3 separate regions of the Homo sapiens genome follow, and regions 2 and 3 are each linked to region 1. The links are contacts of gene promoters, found by promoter capture Hi-C in human tissues and cell types (Jung and others, 2019). All regions are on one chromosome and are shown on one strand. Each heading gives the region's core, a stretch centred on a gene start or on the middle of the fragment in contact. The rest is flanking DNA. Distances are from core to core; before and after follow the strand shown.

Region 1 (2,604 bases), core at 28-2,527:
CCGGCCTTAGCCACCGACAGCAAAGTTCCCAGAGTTGGCTGAAAGCCTCCCGCGGCCCAGCCACCTCCTGGTAATGGAATCTCCTGAAACGCTGTCGGAAGGTCTCAGAGTTAGTGCCATTCTCTCTTAGAGCTGATTTGGCCATCATTAATAGCAGAATGCAGCTTCCCTTCGCTTAGGAGTCTGGGTTCCAGGGCTTACATCTATCTTCCCATGTCCTTGGAGAATCCCCTGCAGATGACTGTAAGAGGTGTTTCTTCCTAGGGCAGAGAAAGATGGCACTATCAGAAGGAATACATTCATATGTCTAAAGTCTTGCCAGAGCTGGCCTGCCTTTCCATGTGCTCCGAGTGGCCTTCTAAGGTAGCACAATCTTCAGTAAATAGACTTTGCAAAAACTGCTTTTCTGGTTGACTTCCAGGGCAGCCCCAGGAAGCAGCAGAGAATAAAAGTACTGTCTGCCCCTCTCCCACCTCCTCCAAATCCGATCCCATTTAACTTCCCTGGCCAATGTTGCACAGTGAGTCCGAACCATATAGGAGAGCTGGAGTTCGAGAGGATCTAAAGACAAGTCACCATCCTGCTTGAAGGCAACAAAAAGCCTCTGTCCAGCTGGTCGCAGCTGATCTCCCCCAGTATCTCCGCAGTCCTTCCCGAGGCCTTCTGCGTCCGCCCCGCCCCCTCGGGCTGCACAACTCCCAAAGCCCACCCCAGGCAAAAATCACGTCCAGAATCTCGGGTCTTTGTTTTCCCCGCGTAGTAGTAGCCGCTCAGCAAGGATTAGGGAGCTACCTGTCGGAAAACCTCGCGCAAGGAGAGAAGCTGGTTTTGGCTCCAAAGCGAGGACCATGGGGGCTTGGGGAGAGTCACATTGGGCAGGAGAGACGGAATCCGAGGAGCAGTAGTAACGGGCTTCCTGAGGACGGGCTCGGGTGTCGGCCAGAGGCTCCAGGTGCTGCCGGTTCGCGGACGCAGAGCTCTCAGCCCAAGGAGCAGCGGCTGCGGGATTCTGGCCTCTTTTGTCTCCGCTCCCTCCGGCCGGGTAACCCGGAGCCGTCGTGCGGTCCCTCCAGAGGCCTCTGACCCGGCTAAGGCGCCCTGAGGGCGCCCTCCAGCCCACCCCTGGGAGCGTCTCCCTCTCGAGCTGCCCCTCAACCCCCTCGCATCCTTGCCTCCGGGCCAGCCTCACCCACTCGGGGTCCGACCCTGACCCCGGCCCCGGCCCCGGCCCCGGCCCCGGCTCTCCAGCCTCCCAAGTACAGCTCCCAAACCGGAAGTCCGAGCGGGCGGCTCGGGGCACCGAGGGCGCATGCGCGAGGGCAGCGACCGCGACTCAGTCTCCGCAGAGCCCGGGCGGGAGTAGCTGGTGGACCCCGTTGAGCTGCCGAACTTCCGGGACTCCCCCGCGACCCCTTCCCAGCTTCCCGTCCGCTCCGCCGCAGCGATTGTCTCGGTGGGTTGATTCGGCACAAACCGCCCGACCCAGGGGCCGGTGCGCGTGTGGAAGGGGAAGCACTCCCCTCGTGGTCGCCTGGAGGTGCGCTGGAGGAGGGGGTGACATAACCAGGGACTCGAGGTCCGCCGTGGGAATGATCCACGAACTGCTCTTGGCTCTGAGCGGGTACCCTGGGTCCATTTTCACCTGGAACAAGCGGAGTGGCCTGCAGGTACTGTCCGGCGCAGAGCGCGGGAACCAGGGAGCGCAGGAGGGGGGACCTGAGCCAGCGCCTGGGGGAGTAGGCTGAGGGACCTAGCGAGCGGGGCTTCCAGGGCTGGGGGCGTATCCCTGGACAGGTGACTGGAGGGCAGCCCCTTAGGGTCAAGGCTGATGCGACACCTAGAGAGGCCGGGCCTAGGCTAGAAAACGGAGGGCAGACCTCGAAGAGCCCCACCTGTGGCGGGGCGAGGAAAGGGCCTGAGGTCCAGGTGTCTGACAGTTGCTGGGGAATGATATAGAAGTGTGGGAGGCACTTTCTCCTATTTATTTTCACACGTGCATTGTTTGAGTTTTGAAGTACTGGGCCAAATACACAGCTCCCAAACACATGGTAAGCGCTCAGTAAAGTTTGTTGAAGGAAATAAATGAAATCGAGAGCGTGTGGTGTTTCCCTCATTACTCCTTTACCAGAAAATTTCTGCACTAGGTAAAGCACTTGGTAGGGGGCCTTTGTGTAACCAGGAATGTATGATGTTCCGTATGCATTATCTTATTTAATCCTCACAACCACCTTATCCATTTTACAGATTAAGCTAGGTTTAGAATAGTTAAATAACTATCGGGGTCATAGCTAGTAATTAACAGAGCTTAGTTTTGAAGCCAGGTCTGTCTGGCTTCAGTATTTGAACTACTTTTACCTGCTTCTGCTTCCAGTAATGTTATCTAATGCTCTCAATAATTTAGTCCACTTAGGTATTGTTTCTACCAGTTAACAAATGAGCAAACTGAAGCTCAGAAAACTTTATGCTGGCCAGTCCTAGTAGTGGCAAGACTGAAATCTAGGTCCGTCTGATCACCAAGACATGCCGATTCTTAGGAGACTGTGGAAGAGCAGAAAAAGTACATTCTTAGTCTATAAAACCTATAAATCAAACAGTTTCCTTTCG
Region 2 (2,604 bases), core at 60-2,559, 250 kb after region 1:
AGCAAGACTCCAACTCGGAAAAAAAAAAAAAAAAAGAATCTTTTCTTTTTTTTAGAGATGGAGTTTTGCTGTTGATGCCCAGGCTGGAGTGCAATGGCACAATCTCGGCTCACTGCAACCTCCGCCTCCCAGGTTCAAGCGATTCTCCTGCCTCAGCCTCAGTAGCTGGGATTACAGGTGCAAGCCACCATGCCCAGATGTTTTTTGTATTTTTCAGTAGAGACGGGGTTTCTCCATGTTGGCCAGACTGCTCTCAAACTCCTGACCTCAGGTGATCTGCCTGCCTTGGCCTCCCAAAGTCCTGGGATTACAGGCGTGAGCCACTGCGCCTTGCCAACTTAAAGAATCTTAATACAAAAATTGGTACAAGAAATAGCATCTTAAGTGAAAGACCTTCAAACAAAATACAGAAAAAGTTAAGCAGCAAGGAGATCTTTGAGGACTCCCCCAGCCCATAGAAACTGTTTAGCAGTTCTTGAGATTAGAATAGGAAGAACAGGTTTGAAGAAGTGGTAATAAGTTCAGTTTTGGACGTATTACAACACAGCGAGACCCCCATCTCTACAAAAAATTAAAAAATTTAGCCGGGTGTGGTGGTATGCACCTGTAGTCCCAACTACTTGAGAGCCTGAGGCAGGAGAGTCACTTGAGCCTGGAAGATCAAAGCTGCAGTGAGCTATGACTGCACCACTGCACTCCAGCCTGGGTGAAAGAGCAAGACCCTGTCTCAGAAACCAAACCAAACCAAATAAACAACAACCACAAAACAGGGGAGGAGATAAAATTACTATCTTCACGGACGTTTTATTATTTGATCATATGAGGAACTAGTTAGGAGGGACAGGGATTTCTGTTTTGTTCATTCACTGATATATCCCAAGTGTCTAGAACAATGTTTGGAATGTACAAACTCAACAAATTTGTTGAATAAACTTCCATTCCTGTAGAATTAAAGCCAGATTGTTTTCACTGAGGAAAGAGTTAAAGAATAAAATGCAGAACGCACAGACCACAGATCAGCTATAGGAAGTCAGGAGGGGGCCAGGGAACAGTAGCTCACGCCTGTAATCCCAGCACTTTGGGAGGCTAAGGAGGGGCGGATTATTTGAGGCCAGGAGTTCAAGACCAGCCTGGCCAACATGGCAAAAACTCGTCTCTACTAAAAATACAAAAATTAGCCAGGCGTGGTGGCGTGACTCTAGTCCCAGTTACTTGGGAGGCTGAGGCACGAGAATCGCTTAAACCCAGGAGGCAGAGGTTGCAATGAGCATAGATTGTGCCACTGCACTCCAGCTTGGGCGACAGAGTGATACTCCATCTCGAAAATGTCAGAACAGACTAATTTGAGTAATAATAAGAAAACTCCAGTTTCCTGCACAGCCAGCTCTGTGTGGGAAAAAGAAAGAAAAAAAGAGGGGGCAGGGGAGAGAGGGAGAGAGAGAGAGAGAGAGAAAGGAAGGGAGCTAGGGAGGGAAAAAGGGAAGAAAAGAAAACAAAAGAAAGTCAGAAGGGCACATCTGTGTAGTGTTGGAGGAAAAAAGGGGAAGGAGGGAATATTCATCAAATACCTATAAAGCAGTGCTTTTGAATCTTTTTTTTTTTTTTTTGCAAACTCTGCCACCCAGATTCAAGCGATTCTCCTGTCTCAGCCTCCTGAGGCTGGGATTACAGGCGTCTGCCACTGCGCCCAGCTAATTTTTGTAGTTTTATTAGACAGGGTTTCACCATCTCTTGAACTCCTGACCTCATGATTCACCTGCCTCAGCCTCCCAAAGTGCTGGGATTACAGGCGTGAGCCACCACACCCGGCCACTTCTGAATCTTTTATGTGCAGCTACATCACCTGATTCAATAGGCCTGGGTGATGAGGCCTGAGATTCTATATATTTTTTTTGAGATGGAGTCTCGCTCTGTCGCCTAGGCTGGAGTGCGGTGGCACAGTCTCGGCTCACTGCAAACTCCATCTCCTGGGTTCAAGCGATTCTCCTGCCTCAGCCTCCTGAGTAGCTGGGATTACAGGTGTGTGCCACCACACCCAGCTAAATTTTGTATTTTTAGTAGAGATGGGAGTTCACCATGTTGGTCAGGCTGGTCTCGAACTCCTGACCTCGTGATCCGCCCACCTCAGCCTCCCAAAGTGCTGGAATTGCAGGTGTGAGCCACTGCGCCTGGCCTCTATACTTATTTTTATTTTATTATTTTTTTTGAGATGGAGTCTCTCTCTGTCACCCAGGCTGGAGTGCAGTGACGCGATCTCGGCTCACTGAAAGCTCCGCCTCCCAGGTTCAAGCCATTCTCCTGCCTCAGCCTCTCCGAGTATCTGGGACTACAGGCACCCGCCACCAGGCCCGGCTAATTTTTTTGTATTTTTAGTAGAGACGGGGTTTCACCGTGGTCTGGATCTCCTGACCTCGTGATCCGCCCGCCTCGGCCTCCCAAAAGTGCTGGGATTACAAGCGTGAGCCACAATGCCCGGCCTTCTCTTTCTATCTTTTAAACGTTTCTGTTTCTCGGGTTTCTGTCTCCAGCCTTCTTTTCTTCTAATAATTTGTTTGGATTATTAGGAGGCTGGAGTGTGGTAGCTCATTCACAGCTCACTGCAGC
Region 3 (2,604 bases), core at 60-2,559, 160 kb after region 1:
GCCACCATGCCCAGCTAATTTTTATATTTTTAGTAGAGATGGGGTTTCACCATGTTGGCCAGGATAGTCTCAATCTCTTGACCTCATGATCCACCCACCTCGGCCTCCCAAAGTGCTAGGATTACAGACAGATGTGAGCCACCACGCCCAGCTGATCTCTATATTTTTATAGTCTATTTTTGGATGCCTGATCTCTGTATTTTTACAGCCCATTCCTGCTCAACTATAATGGCTTTTGACCGATTCAGATTAATCAGTTACAGACACAATTGACTCATAGTCGTATTCCTTTTTTTTTTTTTTTGAGACAGAGTCTTGCATTTTTGCCCAGGCTGGAGGGCAGTGGCGTGATTTTGGCTCACTGCAACCTCTGCCTCCAGGGTTCAAGTGATTCTCCTGTCTCAGCCTCCCGAATAGCTGGGATTACAGGTGTCCACCACCATGCCTGGCTAATTTTTGTGTTTTTAGTAGAGACAAGGTTTCACCATGTTGGCCAGGTTGGTCTCCAACTCCTGACCTCAAATGATCTGCCCGCCTTGGCCTCCCAAAGTGCTGGGATTACAGGTGTAAGCCACCGTGCCCAGCCTATATTCATTCTTGAATTCACAAGGACATCACCATCATCCATCACCACCATTCTCATTAGTTTATATTTATTGAGCACTCATAATGTTCCAGCCCCCGACTCCAATGACCGCATTACCCCTCCTACCCACTCCCATTCCCATCCCTGGATCTTTGGAAAAAGCTTCATAATCATATCTGGCCCTCAGACACAATGATATAAGGACAAATTTCTTGGGGACCCTGCAGTGTTTGGTCTTTGGCCAGTCTGTCCCTGGCACAACTACAGAAATAAATATATATATATATATTTATTAAACCTTTGCTTGTATCTGTACAATATTGATCTCTGCTGATTGCTTAAAATAGAACCTGATTATCTCTACTACTACAGCATCTCCTAAGCCAAACAGCCCCACCACAGAGGAGGCCCACTTTCACAGACTGGCTAAGAATCCTCTAGAGCATTTTAAGTAGTTGCTCTGAATTTTGCACAGCAGTCTAATACCTACTTTTCCCTAGAGCTATTGCCCAGAGGAACAGGACTGAGGCAGAAGGGGCACTTGGGGATGATATGGAAGGATCTATAAGGCAAGTCTAAAGATTTAGTGGCCATGTCAGATGTTTGGGGAAGGGACTCTATTTTCCAGACATTTCAGATAGCCATCCCGGGCTCACCTGAGGAGTGCTGGCAAAGACAAGAGTCCCCTGAATGCACATATGGTCTAAGCGTACCTTGAGAAGTCGTGAACATTTCCCCAGAAAAGTGAAGACCCTAGAGTCCCCTCTTTTGCATTTGCTGTCGCCAGATGGTGTCTTCAGCAGTGAAGCGGCATTTCCTTTAACAATCTGTGATTTCCTAGGATGCTCAGAGAAGGCTGGGTAATGACAGACCAACCCACCCCAAGGAAATCCTATTCAAGTCTAATGGCTAAGTGAGGAGCCAATGGCTTCTTCGAACCTAAAACTGGCTCCTCCTCAACCACAGCTCTGGCACAGGTATGCTTCATACAAAGAGAACTACTTCCCCAGACACCGCTGGTGAGAGCTGGCCAGTGAGTTAGCCAACAGAAAAGGTTGCTGGCTCAAATGGCTGGTATAGTGTGATACCACTAATGAGAAAATTAATCACATGTTGCTGGTGGAAGGGGTGAGTGCTGGTCATGGGCTAGAGACTGGCTCTGAGGGTTTGGATCACCAGATGGATGCTGGGCTTGAGGAATACCCTCTCCAGGCAGCTGATCAATCACTTCAGGGACCACCCAGGACTTCTAATTTATCTCCTCAGGGACCTCCTGGGCCTGCAGATCAATCTCCTCAGGGAACTCTTGGGATGGTTTATCAATCTCAGGGATGCCCTGAGATAACAGATTGATCGCAGAAGTCTCCTGGGCCAGCCTGCCAACCTCCACAGAGAACTCCTGGTATGGCTGGATGACCTCCTCAGGGATCTCTTCAGCTGGGCTGCCAACTTCTACAAGGGTTTCCTGGACCAAGCTACCAACCCCTACATGGAACTTATGGACCAGCTTGCCAACCTCCACAGAGACCCCCTGGCATGGCTGGCTGACCTCCTCGGAGTTCTCCAGACATAGCTGGCAAACTTCCTCAGAGACTTTCTGGCACAGTTGGCTGGACTTCTGGCATGGCTGGCTGATGTGAGGGACCTCCTGGCATGTGTGGTTACCATTGTCATGGTTCTCCTGGCATTGCTGGCTGATGTCAGGGACCTTCTGACATGGCTGGCTGAGCGCCTCAGAAATGTCCTGGCATGGCTGGCTGATGTCAGGGACCTCCTGACATGGCTGGCTGACCTCCTCGTATGGCTGGCTGGTTTCCATAGGTGGCACCTGTGGGGACTGATTTGGTTCAAAAAGCTCTTGCTCCCCTTCTATGGAGAGCTCTTGTGCTCCACTCCCAGGGGTCTCCTGGAGCAGCCCAAGGCCTTGATGTTCTTCAGCCACGTGTGAATTTAGGGAGGGTTGATCACTGAAGCCAAATTGGGAGTTACCATCTACTGTAGTAGGGGAAGAAGGACCA

Evidence for each region. The method cuts DNA at HindIII sites, captures the fragments that hold promoters and counts their contacts. A contact is called where the count stands out against the background at its distance.
Region 2: a contact is called between a fragment that was not itself captured here and the fragment with the promoter of ZSCAN29 in region 1, in 1 of the 25 tissues and cell types used here (spleen).
Region 3: a fragment that was not itself captured here is called in contact with the fragment with the promoter of ZSCAN29 in region 1 in 1 of the 25 tissues and cell types used here (spleen).

What each region holds. Positions count from the first base shown.
Region 1 is chr15:43,369,766-43,372,369 of GRCh38, forward strand. ZSCAN29 (zinc finger and SCAN domain containing 29) reads right to left here and starts at 1,278. Exons shown (of 6, transcript NM_001372080.1): 1 at 793-1,278; 2 at 1-260. The coding sequence starts at 148. It overlaps TUBGCP4 (tubulin gamma complex component 4), which reads left to right and starts at 1,336. Exons shown (of 18, transcript NM_014444.5): 1 at 1,336-1,667. The coding sequence starts at 1,590. RefSeq lists a silencer at 977-1,246 and an enhancer at 1,347-1,466. The HindIII fragment of the contact is 7,589 bases long and covers 1-2,604 here.
Region 2 is chr15:43,624,392-43,626,995 of GRCh38, forward strand. No RefSeq gene overlaps it. Among named protein-coding and RNA genes, the nearest start is that of STRC, 6.9 kb to the left of the region's middle. The HindIII fragment of the contact is 5,185 bases long and covers 1-2,604 here.
Region 3 is chr15:43,532,839-43,535,442 of GRCh38, forward strand. It overlaps PPIP5K1 (diphosphoinositol pentakisphosphate kinase 1), which reads right to left. Exons shown (of 32, transcript NM_001394395.1): 32 at 637-2,604. The coding sequence ends at 1,836. Among named protein-coding and RNA genes, the nearest start is that of MAP1A, 17 kb to the left of the region's middle. The HindIII fragment of the contact is 7,344 bases long and covers 1-2,604 here.